Regions from separate parts of the Homo sapiens genome. Here region 1 is linked to region 2. The links are contacts of gene promoters, found by promoter capture Hi-C in human tissues and cell types (Jung and others, 2019). All regions are on one chromosome and are shown on one strand. The core of a region is centred on a gene start or on the middle of the fragment in contact, and the rest is flanking DNA. Distances in the headings are between cores, read along the strand shown.

Region 1 (6,382 bases), core at 609-3,108, 280 kb before region 2:
TGGCTGCCGGGAAGAGGCGCTCCTCACTTCCTAGATGGGATGGCGGCCGGGCAGAGACGCTCCTCACTTTCTAGACTGGGCAGCCAGGCAGAGGGGCTCCTCACGTCCCAGACGATGGGCGGCCAGGCAGAGACGCTCCTCACTTCCCAGACGGGGTGGTGGCCGGGCAGAGGCTGCAATCTCGGCACTTTGGGAGGCCAAGGCAGGCGGCTGGGAGATGGAGGTTGTAGCGAGCTGAGATCACACCACTGCACTCCAGCCTGGGCACCATTGAGCACTGAGTGAACCAGACTCCGTCTGCAATCCCGGCACCTCGGGAGGCCAAGGCTGGCGGATCACTCGCGGTTAGGAGCTGGAGACCAGCCCGGCCAACACAGCGAAACCCCGTCTCCACCAAAAAAGTACGAAAACCAGTCAGGCGTGGTGGCGCGCGCCTGCAATCGCAGGCACTCGGCCGGCTGAGGCAGGAGAATCAGGCAGGGAGGTTGCAGTGAGCCGAGATGGCAGCAGTACAGTCCAGCTTCGGCTCGGCATCAGAGGGAGACCATGGAAAGAGAGGGAGAGGGAGACCGAGAGGGAGAGGGGAGAGGGGAGAGGGGAGAGGCAGAGGCAGAGCAGGAATTCAGATTTTTTTTTTTTTGGCAGTAGTGATTCTTAAGAGCCTGTGAGTATCGTGACTTTTTAAAAAGTGCTGTTACAAGATCCATTTTTTTCCCTAAGAGACAATTTTTTTAATCATTAAAGAAGAAATCATTGTATCACCAGTAAGAGTGGTGTATTTAAACAGAATATTACAAATTCCCTCTAGAAAGTTTATTTTGTAAACTTATTTTGTAATTCGTTTCAAGATTTGCTACTGGCATCAGTTTTGCTGGGAGGAGGCATAATTTCTGTTTCAGTCATTTTGAAGTTTATTACCATTTTGTTGTCAGAAGTTAATTCTATATATGTTTTTATATAACAAACACAATTTTGAAATCATTACCATCTGACCACTTGTTTTCTTAGCTGATTTGTAGCCTTCTTATTACTGGCAATATTACTGTAAGGCTAGCCGAGAGAAAGGATGAGTAGACCTAAGTCAAGCAAGTTTATTAACCTGCTGGGCTGCTCCTTAACAGTCAAAGGAGGCAGCCCTGAACTCACAGAATGAGGAGTTTATATGGGGTCGGAGGGGCTTAAGGGAGTTTCTGGGTATAACCGCATCCTGGGGTTGTTTGTCGGTTATCTTTACCGCTAAGAGTATCTATTAGCTTGTAACAGGCACAAAGGTAGTTCATCAGCTTGTAATAGACTTATAACACGTCATTCCCTGACTTTTAAGGTGGCAGTTAGATGAAAAACAGGAATTTACAAGAATGTGTAACTAAGGTTTGTTCACATTTCCCACGACTTCCCCGGTGCTGCCCAAATGGCTGTAATTAGGGTTTGCTCCACTTAGCATGTCTGGTAACTTTGCTGTGGCACCCAGATAAGTGTTTAGGAAGGCAGCTGCAGAGTATTCAGGGTAAGGGGAAGTTGGGGGGATTCCTGGGGTAGCTTGTCCCTAACAATTACCAAAGTAGCTTTCAGTATTTTCACTCTAGAGGGAAGGATTAGCCTTTCTCATTTGCATGATTTAAGAAAAGGGGAAAAGGGAAGCTTCTTTTTTTCCTCCCTCTTCCTAGTCTTTAAGGCAAACACATCACTTAAAGATAGTTGATTAGGGGAAGTGGACAGGGTTCGGAGGTAATATTTCTGATGTCTAGATGTCTAAAATAGAGACCCCTAAATTGTGTACATGAGACACACAGTTCTGTCTTCAAACATTTGTTCATTCACTTATTTAAAAAAAAATTGCTCATTGAGCATCTACTGTGCTCCAGGTGCTGTGGTAGGATTAAAAGATGACTGGCCAGTACCTGTGTAGCTCAGACTCGGGTAGTGGGAAGAGACCTGAAAACAACTGACCTTAAAATATAACCAGGACCAGCCAGGCGCGGTGGCTCACGCCTGTAATCCCAGCGCTTTGGGAGGCCGAGGCAGGCAGATCATGAGATCAGGAGATTGAGAACATCCTGGCTAACACGATGAAACCCCATTCCTATTAAAAATACAAAAAATTAGCCAGGTGTGGTGGCGGGTGCCTGTAGTCCTAGCTACTCGGGAGGCTGAGGCAGGAGAATGGCGTGAACCTGGGAGGCAGAGCTTGCAGTGAGCCGAGATCGTGCCACTGCACTCCAGCCTGGGCGACAGAGCGAGACTCCATCTCAAAAAAAAAAATATCTATATCTATATCTATATCTATATATCTATATATAGATATAGATAGATAGATAGATAGATAAAACTAGGACCAGGCAAATGTCTTTAGAAGCCTTAAACACACTGAACACTGTGTGATGTGCTACCCATCTATAACTTTCCATATGTAAATAAGTAAATAAGTGTAAAGAAGTCCAATATAATTGTGATTACTTTCCTTAAAGATGACATTTACTTGAGGAGGGAGGAGCTACATATTTTTCCACATTTTTATTTTATTTTATTGCCCTAGCTTTTTGAGTGTCCTAAGGCTGTGCTTCCGTTACCTGGGAAATCCAACCCTAAGAACAACCTAACCCCTAAGAACAACGCTAAGAGCACTTGAAGGTATTCATAAAACTCAGAGGAATCCCTGAGGACTGGGCAGACACTTGAGAAGTGGCCATCAGTTGTATTGAGCAGTTAGCATGTAACACTGTGTGGAAACACACAGGTTTTCCTTGGGGGAGTGAAGACAGAGACAAATGTGGGGCAATGAAGTCAGAGACAAAGACACTTAATGGCTGTCTCTTCCCAAATATACACCATGTTTGGGAAGAATGCATCTGGAGGCTTTTGGGAAAAAGAAATATTTCATAATCAAGTGTTTGCCTAGGATGCTGCCCTTTTCCTAAAGGAAATTTATCAACATCTGTTTCACAGCCACAAGATAATTGCATGTTTATTGAAGTTTTGAGATCCATTTATACTGGCTAGAGCACTCACTGAACAGTTTTGTAGTCTTCTTATAAAATATTAGATTGGGACTTGTTAGAGTTATAGATTATAAACACCACCCAAATTCAACATTCTGTAAATTTTTACCACCAGTTTTATGGCTGAGGCTATCTTAGCTCTCTTGACTTCCATCCCTAGTACAAGTTGTTGGCATTTTGAAAGGAACCCTTTCCCCTATCTACAGCAAAACAAAATTTAAAATAATTTAACAAAGTTGACTTTTCACTGAAAAAGTTAAAAAAAGAAACAAAAGGCAGGGCGCGGTGGCTCACGCCTGTAATCCCAGCACTTTGGGAGGCCAAGGCGGGCAGATCACGAGGTCAGGAGATCGAGACCATCCTGGCTAACACGGTGAAACCCCGTTTCTACTGAAAATACAAAAAATTAGCCGGGCGTGGTGGCGGGCGCCTGTAGTCCCAGCCACTCGGGAGGCTGAGGCAGGAGAATGGCATGAACCTGGAAGGCAGAGTTTGCAGTAAGCCAAGATTGTGCCACTGCACTCCAGCCTGGGGGACAGAGTGAGACTCCATCTCAAAAAAAAAAAAAAAAAAAAAGAAAAGAAAAAAAATTGACCAAGTCCCTTTTTAAAAAATTATTTATTTATTTATTTATTTAGAGATGAGATCTTGCCATCTTGCCCAGGCTGGTCTTGAACATCCTTGGCTCAAGCAATCCTCCCACCCCGGCCTCCCAAATTGCTGGGATTACAGGTGTGAGCCACTGTGCCTGGCCAACCAAGTCCCTTTGAGTCATTTTGTACCAAAGTGAATGCAGCTGTTAGCTGGATTCTCACCAGCTAAGTGATCTTCAGCCCACATTATTTGAAGAACAGGCAATTCCAATTCACATTTGAGTCACAGCGAGATTTAAAATACAGTGCTGCACTTTACAGGTGTTCTGGCTCTTTTAGCCAAGATGTTAAATGTGAGACATCTAAAGGACTATTCTCTGAACATGGCCAGATACCAGACATGCTAAGCATGGTTAGAGCTGAGCCCTCTGCAATTCTGGGGGCTGGTGGGTACCCTCTTCTCCTTTTGGGATTCCTCTCTGTTTAGCTCCTATTGGAGACAAATAGTTCCAAGAAAGATGTGAAGAAACAGAATAAAGGCAAAACGTGAGTCTGGGGAAGTAAGTCATTGCCTAGGTAAGAAACCTACTTTTAGTCGAGGGCTTTTAGGATATCTGCATATAAATTGGGACTTTTAAGGTAACTCAAAGATTCATTCATTAAACCAATAGTATTTCAGCCCTTGGGATGAACTCAAACTCTTGACTTTCTTAGACAGACTCTACCCTGTCACACAAACTCAAGAGTCATGGTGGGGGCATCTCAACTAATTAGGTAATTCTGAGCTACAGCATAATTGGATACCAGTTTTAAAAGAGATGAATGCTTGCTCTCCATGTAAAACAAACAGAAAGGAAAGCAGCCTTCTCCACATTGCAGGAGAAATGGTTTTATTGCCTCAATTGGGAATATCCTCATTAAAAACTGGTCCTACACACTAATTACTGTTTTAATGGATTAAATGGAAAGACATACATTGAAAATGTCACAAGTAGTTAAGCTTTGTATGGTGGAATTGCTAGAGGTTTTTTGTTTTGATATTTTGGTAATTCTCAGATTTTCTTCATTGAGCATATTATTCATTCATTCATTCATTCATTCATTCATTTTTAGAACCAAGCAACACCTCATTCTATGCCATAGAATGAGTGTTCCCCTTGGCTTAATTTTTTTAAATTATACGTGTTTGGGGAGAAAATTTAAGTGGTACATGAAGTTTGAAGTTGAGAGGAAATGTATTTTATTATTGTATAAAAGACTCAAGTTGGACTAATTCAATACTCAAAAATCATCATTTCCTTTAATGTGGTGATTCTCAACCCTGGCTGCACTTTGTAATTACCTGGGAAGCCTTAAAAATACCAATTCCAGATCACTCACTCAATCTCTACAACCAGATCAAATGGTTCAGAAGCAGAATAGGGCCAATTAGTATTTTTAGAAGATCAACTTATTATAATATCTAAGGTTCCATATTGCAATTCTTTTATCTTTACAGCATTGACTAGGAAGTTACATTACAGACAGTCCCTAACTTACAATAATTCCACTTACAATTTTCCAACTTCATGATGAATTTATCTGAACTAAATGCATTTTCAACTTAATAATTTTGTTTACTTATAATAAGTTTATCTGGACATCACCCCATATAAGTTGAGGGACTTTCTGTACTTAAAATTTGACTCTGTAGGTGTATTGTTACATTCTTTTATTACCATGGGAGAAGGTGGTAATACCTACTACAAAAGTTTTCCAGGCTCTATGGTACAGAACTTGGGGACTTTTATCAGCCATGTGGTCACTTGCTGAAGCAGCCCCAGAGGTGGTTTCTGAGGGAAACAAACTTTCCTGTAGGTAGATGACTTAAGCTCACTTCCATGCTACACTAGGGTGGTCTTCTATTCAGCTGTGTGTCCCCACTCCATTCCTTAATTTTTATAACAATGCAATACGTTATATACCTTTCCATCTGCATACCTCTTCTCATGGATAAGCAGCTTGAGCTGGGAATCTGAACTCAAGGTCTTGCCAGACTTTTAACTCAGTCTCACCACTGCCCAGTTCTTACTAAACCTCATAAATAGCTGGCAAAAATGCTATTTATGAAGAATTATCAAGGAACATGCCCCCTTGTACTCCTCTAAACAATCTTTAGGCCAAGTTCTGTGGCTCACACCTGTAATCCCAGCACTTTGGGAGGCCGAGGCAGGCGGATCATTTGAGGCCAGCTGTTGGAGAGCAGCCTGGCCAACATAGTGAAATCCATTCTCTACTAAAAATACAAAAATTAGCCAGGCATGGTGGCACACGCCTGTAATTCCAGCCACTCGGGAGGCTGAGGCACGAGAATTGCTTGAACCCAGGAGGTGGAGTTTGCAGTGAGCTGAGATGGCACCACTGCACTCCAGCCTGGATCACAGAGCAAGACTCTGTATCAAAAAAGTCTTTAAAAATCTGATTTTTAATCTTGAATTATCTCAGATTATCAGACAGATAAGTACTTGGATGGGATCATTTTAGCTTCTCATACGTTACTTTCAGTGCTCATACTGTAATCCCTCCATACTCTTTAAGCCTACATTAGGAAATGTCTGTTCTAGTTATTATAGAACTACTGTTAAAGGCTTAGATCACTCTTTTTCATGCATCACCTCCATTTTGACGAGAAATTTCTCTAGGTTTTAATTTGTTTGTCTTTTATGGACATGGCCAATCTCCTAAATATTTGTGTTCCCTCTTTGCTTTGCCTGATCAGAAGCTCAGGGTCTAATGTGCAGTGATGTCTAG
Region 2 (6,741 bases), core at 1-2,500:
AAAGTCTTACGTTTTAGTTTTACAAAATTCTACAAGGCAGGTTTTTATTCCTCTTACAGAAGAAGAAACCAAGACCCAGAGCCAAGTACAGACATCAGTAAATACTCAATTAAAATTGGAATTCATGTCTCCCTAGTTTAAAACTACCTCTATCACAAGAAAAATCCCAAATCAATTATGGTCTCACATACACAATGAGTTGGTTCACACTGCTAACAATTTAGGTGGAGGAATCAGCCCTATTTAAAAAATAGAAAACAAAAAAAAAAAAAAATCAATGAATTTTATACATAGCCTACCATACATACTCTAAACTCCTTAACCTGGCATTTACATTTTTAAAATGGTTTCTCAGGTACTTTTCCACTCCTCTATATTTGCACTTTCTATCCTTTACATTTTCCCATGCCATTCCTAACTACCCTCTTCCTACCCCCCCTTTCCAACCATAAAGTTCTTTTTGATCTTTCCATAAATCTGCTCCTTTTGTCTGTGAGGATCTATTTTACCCACTTTTCTACTTGCTAGTGTACCCTGAATACTGAATGACCTATACCAGTCTGAACCATGGATATGAGTTCAGATAAGACTGATCTGAAATTCTTCCCCACTGTCGAGCCAAATGAAACTTCCCTGCCATGATCAAATCCAGCCAGAATCGGACCGGCCTTGCACAGCTCGGCTAACAGCACTTAAGAACTTGCAATGTCAGGCAGTACAGGAGAAAACTGATCTGTACTCGTGCTCAGGAAGACGCCACACACACACTTCAACCGTTGTCCTAAACTGCCTTCCCTTTCGGCCTCCTCACTTCAAATAATAAGACCATCCAATTAATGGAGGACTCCTTTCGCGTAACTCTCCTTAAAGCGGTAGGCGGTGCGAGAACCGGCTATTCAGAGGTAAACACTGGGCGGGAAGAGAGAGAATCTCAATTCTCACAGTGCCCCAATTCCGCTCCCACGCCCCGACGCTGCGCACGTCACGTCGCGTCACACACGCGGCGCGACCCACAGTGCGGCCCGGCCCCGCCCCACGCCACGCCACGGCCCGCCGGGCCCCGCAGGGAGTTCGAAGGCTTCGAGGCTGCTCCCATACGCACTGGTGGAAGGAGAGGCCGCGCTCCCGGCTGAGCACGGTGTCACGGGTGCTGCAGCCCACTGCGGAGCAACTTCGGGTCATCTTCTTGTTACGTGGGGCCCCACCTTCGGGGTTCCCGCGACAGCATGAATCACGACCACTTTAGCTCCGCCCGTTGACTCTGCGGCTACGACCTTTATTTGTCACGAAAGGCGGGCTTTAGAGGCGCGGGACTTCCACACTTCCTCTCCGAAGGCCCTGCGCCGGTGCCGTAGCCAATGACAGGCCACGTTGTGTCCCAGCAGCCAATCGGAAGGGCCTGAGCCTGAAGACGTGCATTTGACCGCTCCTCCCTCCGCGTTGGAGGCGGAATAGTGGGTTTTGCTGCAACCGGTTTATTTTCCTTCTGTTTTCACCCATTCTGGCACAATCTGGCGCCATCGTCCTTCTTGTGAGGCCAAGCCTGAAAATGCGAAGCAGAGAGGCAGGACCAAAATTGAGGCGAATCCAGGAACCTGCCAATGGGTCTCCGGGTGCGGTCTCTGAAACTGGAGGATATCGGGAGGAAAGGGTATGGAAGAGGGATAAAACACGGTGCCTTAGGTGTGTTGAAGACAGAGTCGGGCCAAAAATATATGATTTACTGAGATGCGTGTCGTGTTCTTGCGCTTTATCTTGTAGCTCTCCGATGCGGAGATAATGGGGAAGCTCTTGGCATGGTTGGCTGTAGGTATGTGATACCGGAGGAGCAGGAGTCAAATAGGATACGCCGACTTTTAATTCAAGGAACCCTTTTCTGAAACACTTTGCCACAATGAAGGAAATAAGGTAAGGTTCTTGGGGCTCCTCAGTAGTAATAGGGGCAGGGGACAAGGGGCAATTAAGTGGTTTTGGTTGGGAATGAGGCATTATGAATAGCTTTCAGGAGATAGAGCTTAGAACAATGTCTTAGTTATAAGCTCTTATGTTTGAGGAAGAGATTTCAATTTGCTTAGAGAAGGAAACGGGCCAGTGGGTTTTTGTCTCTGAGAAGGAGATCCTTAGCATACAGAAAACAGAGAAGGGTTTGCAACTTTTCCGTTTCTTTGTATAGCACACAAAAATAATTCCAAATATCCAGGCCTAACAAGATTGCTTCTTTTTCCCCTTTGTGTTTACTTTGTCCAGATTACAGCCGAAGATACATATTAAGGTATTACTTATTCACACCAGTTTTCCATTATAATATGCTTGTATCTTCTCTGAATGGAATTAATAGCTTTTGGTTATGGTTCCTTAAAAGTCACATGGCCTAAGGATAGATGGTCAAGGAACTTTGGAAAAATTGGTCCCTGGGGGATGTGCAGGGCAAATACTTTTTGGCTGTAAGGTGTGTGCAGAGAGTAAGAACTGGATTTAAATACTGTAAGTTGGTTGGGCTGTTAGAGCCTTTTCCTGCTCAACCAATTAAGACCCGAGTGAGGCTGAATAAAAATAACATTGTTTTTAGCTATCTTTAAGGAAAAAATTAGTTGCCTTATATTTTTGTAACAGTTTTACTCAGATATAATTCTCATACCACACAACTAATTGGTTTAAAGTGTACAATTCAGTGGGTTTTAGTATATGCACAGAATTGTGGAACAGTCACAATCAATATTAGAACATTTTCATCACTCCAGAAAGAAACCTCATTCTTACTAGCAGCACCTCCAAATATTCCCCCACCCCGCTCAGCAAACACTAATTTAGTTTCCGTGTGCCTCTGCCTGCTCTGTACACTTCATGTAAGTGGAATTATGAACTAATATATGGTCTTTGTGACTGGCTTCTTTCACTTGGAATGTTTTCAGAGTTCATCCATCTTATAGCACGTATCAGTACTTTATTTTTTATTGCTGAATCGTACTCCATTTTATGGATGTAGCAGATTTTGTTTATCCGTTCAACAGTTGGTGGACATTTGGGTTTTCCAATTTTTTTTTTTACTATTATGAACATTTGTGTACAAGTTTTTGTGTGGACAAATGTTTTCATTTTCCTGATTACACACCTAAGAGTGGAATTGGTGAGTCATAAGATAACTGTGTTTAGCTTCTTGAGGAAGTGCCAGATTATTTTCCCTAGTGGCTGCACCATTTTACATTCCCACCAGCAGTGGATGAGGCTGCCAGTTTCTCCACATTTTTGTGCATGTGAAGTGGCTGTCTCATCGTGGTGTTTGCCTTTTCTTAAGGACTCAAAAGTTTGCAGATACAGGCATTCACTTGCCATTTTCTTAAGGTAGAGTTGAAAGTACTGCTGCCAGTTCATCATCTGAAATGAGGGCTGTTTTCTTTCCTGTTTAATTGGATTGCAACTATTTGCCTTTCCTAAAGATGAAATAGTGTGCTTCCTACATTATTCTGACAACATTCCTTTAATTGTTAATTTCAGATGAATTTCTGAAAACTGCTTTTATCAGAACAGATTTACTTAAATGAAGGCAATAGCCGCAAGGGGTCACTGCTCTAGATATTTACTTCTGCATAGGAAATAAGTAATCCTTTATAGATGGAATTTTTTTTTCTTAGTTGTATTTTTGTATCTTTACATTTGTTTATAACTTATCTATACTTTTTTTGTTGTTGTGATTATTTTACTGTTGACATGGAAGTTCTCAATCTGATCATTTGGTTATATCATTGCTTCTTCTAGTAACTTCATATCCAGTGATTAAACCTTTTCACTGCTGTTCACATAATGAACCGTTGTGATTATTGAATACTTAAATGAGGATATGTAAGCTGTATTAAAGATAGTGTTATTTGCAAAGGCATTGACTATTGCACAAAAAATTTTAAAAGAAAATATCTCTTTTCAGGAATTGTACTCTCAGAGATGTTGAGAAAAGATACATGGGTCTTGGAAGATAATTACTCAAAATATGCAGGGAAGGTAGTATATCTTTCTATTTTAAATGTATTAAGTATTCCTGGAACTATAGCAGTGAGTTGGAAATGGAGGATTGTCCAAGTAAAAAACATTTATTAAGGCTTTAATGAAATCTACCTATTTTATGGTATATAATCTCATTAATTGTCCACTTGGAAAGAATAATAACAGATATTTATTTATTGGCCAGTTACTATGGGCCACAAATTATGCTGAGCTTTTTTTAATTTCATTTCATTTTATTTTATTTTTTGAGATGGGGTCTCACTCTGTCACCCAGGCTGGAGTGCAGTGGCGCAATCTCAGCTTATTGCAACCTCTGTCTTCCAGGCCCAAGCAATCTTCCCACCTCAGCTTCCTAAGTAGCTGGGACCACATGCATGTACCACTACACCTGGCTAATTTTTTTTTGTATATTTGGTAGAGACAGGGTTTTACCATGTTGCCCAGGCTGCTAAGCTTTTTATATACAGTATATAGAAAGAGTTGGTTTTCTTAAACAATATTTATTTCTCATAATAACTCTATGAAAGCAGGTATAGACTTCTTGCTTTCTAGGGTTGGTATCTTGCTTGTTGAGGACCTACCCTTTTGTGTTGCCGAATTTTTCATTGTTTGAGTTCTGTCTTTTGTTTCAGAAAGCCATGGAGTTTTGAAATTATTGTTATATCATTATTTGTTACATAATTATTTCTACTTCTAGAATCTCATGCTAACTTGGAAGTGTCTTCTCAGCATCAAGCCTGATATGGAGGGGCAGCTACACCCTAATACGCTCCAAAACTAGTTATGCTTTGTTTTATACGTAATGCTTCTGTTATTAGACAAGTGGTTTCCAAATATCAGAAGCAGTGCTAGGACTTAAAGGAAAAGGGGGAGTGTTTTTTCTTCTAATAGAACTTTTGAGCAGTGATGAAAGGAAAACAAGAAGACTCAAAAGATTATAAATCTCAGGCACGAATTAGTGTTCTGCCAATTAGGAACATTCTGATTGCTTGACAAGGTCTATATTTTGCTGATGAGGAGTAGAAGCCTGTGGGAGGTGGGGGTGGAAGCAGCAGAAGGAAAAGAGTAGCAAGTATTTAGTAAAATGTATTCATCATAGTGGATAAAAATCAAGCTTTGGGGAAAAAGGTCAAACTCCTTCAATGATGCTGTACATCTGTACCTTTACTCCATCCTATAGCAAATATTTGTATAACTGCACAGAAGAAATTGGACAATATTCCTTGAAAAATTCTTAGAAAGTTCAACTTTCCAAGTTAGTATCACCCCAAGGAAAATTATATGAGTAGGAATACCTAATTTCTAGCCATACTCTAGTTCCAATTAGCTTCTCTAAGTAGCTGGAACTGCAGGCGTGTGCCACCACACCTGGCTAATTTTTTGTATTTTTGGTAGAGAAGGGGTTTTGCCGTGTTGCCCAGGCTGCTAAGATTTTTATATATAGTGTATAGAAAGAGTTGGTTTTCTTGGCCAGGCATGGTGGCTCGCACCTGTAATCCCAGCACTTTGAAAGGCTAAGGCAGGTGAATCACCTGAGCTCAGGAGTTCAAGACCAGCCTGGCCAACATGGCGAAACTCCGTCTCTACTAAAAATACAAAAATTAGCCGGGCATGGTGGCACGCACCTGTAACCCCAGCTACTTGGGAGGCCAAGGCAGGAGAACCACTTGAACCCAGGAGGTGGAGGTTGCAGTGGGCCAAGATTGGCCACTGCACTCCAGCCTGGGTGACAGAGCAAGACTCTGTCTCAAAAAAGAAAGAGTTGGTTCTGTTAAACAATATTTATTTCTCATAATAACCCTATGAAAGCAGATACAGACTTCTGGCTTTTTAGGATTGGTATTTCACTTGTTGAACACCTACCCTTGTGTCAGATGTATAGCAGGTTAACAAAGTCAATACAGTGATACACTTGACATAATCTTTGTTCTGAGTTTTTTTCCCAATTATAGTAAAATTGGAGGTCTTAACTGTTCTACATTAGATAAATATATGCATTTGTTTTAAAGAGCTAAGCAATGAGAATCTTACAACTAGAGCTGAAGTTCAAGAAATAAATGTCCAATGATTAAATTTTTTCCACTGCTGTTCACATCATGATTTGTTGTGATTAATGTATGTGGATGAGGACATAATAGAAAAAGAAAATGATGAGACTTGTATATATTGTGTTTCTGCACAATGAGTTCCTTTGAATGTTTTTCGTTTTAGGAATAAAATTGAAGGGTGTTTTTCTTAGAGAACATCATTTGTCATATTTATTTGATCAAGAAGTTGAAGATTTATATAATAAGGTATGGGACTTACACATTTATTTTGATAAAAGAACACAGAAAAGGTCAGGTATGAGCAGAAAATTGACATTTATTTCAGCCTAATGTGGATACTGTACTCTGAATTAAAAATTTCTTTTCCTTACTCTTCCAGCTTTTAAAGATAAGTATTATTTCAAAATAGTATTTTTTTAATTAATAGATTCAATTCAGGAAAGGCATTGGAGGGGGTGGAGCTTTTAACTTTGACAGTCTCACTCTGTTGCCCAGGCTGGAGTGCAGCGGCGCAATCTCTGCTCACTGCAATCTCTGCCTCCTGGGTTCAAATAGTTATTGTGGCCCAGCTTCCCAAGTGGCTGGGATTAGAGGCGCATGCCACCACACCCAGCTAATTTTTTTTATTAAGTAGAGACCATGTTTTGCCATGTTGGCCAGACTGGTCTCAAACTTCCAGCCACCAACCTCAGCC

The links. The method cuts DNA at HindIII sites, captures the fragments that hold promoters and counts their contacts. A contact is called where the count stands out against the background at its distance.
Region 1: a fragment that was not itself captured here is called in contact with the fragment with the promoter of THAP9 in region 2 in 1 of the 25 tissues and cell types used here (hippocampus).

Annotation. Positions count from the first base shown.
Region 1 is chr4:83,175,672-83,182,053 of GRCh38, reverse strand. All of the region lies in intron 4 of LOC124900167 (a long non-coding RNA gene), which reads left to right. Among named protein-coding and RNA genes, the nearest start is that of PLAC8, 64 kb to the right of the region's middle. RefSeq lists an enhancer at 374-949. The HindIII fragment of the contact is 8,357 bases long and covers 1-6,036 here.
Region 2 is chr4:82,895,244-82,901,984 of GRCh38, reverse strand. It overlaps THAP9 (THAP domain containing 9), which reads right to left and starts at 1,250. Exons shown (of 5, transcript NM_024672.6): 1 at 1,103-1,250. The coding sequence starts at 1,182. It overlaps THAP9-AS1 (THAP9 antisense RNA 1), which reads left to right and starts at 1,069. Exons shown (of 4, transcript NR_034077.1): 1 at 1,069-1,651; 2 at 1,762-1,908; 3 at 6,211-6,293. It overlaps SNORD143 (small nucleolar RNA, C/D box 143), which reads left to right and starts at 6,057; the gene lies at 6,057-6,132. It overlaps SNORD144 (small nucleolar RNA, C/D box 144), which reads left to right and starts at 3,760; the gene lies at 3,760-3,845. It also overlaps a transcript of SEC31A not described here. RefSeq lists a silencer at 891-1,240 and enhancers at 766-1,285, 1,551-1,670, 1,286-1,805. The HindIII fragment of the contact is 5,539 bases long and covers 1-4,783 here.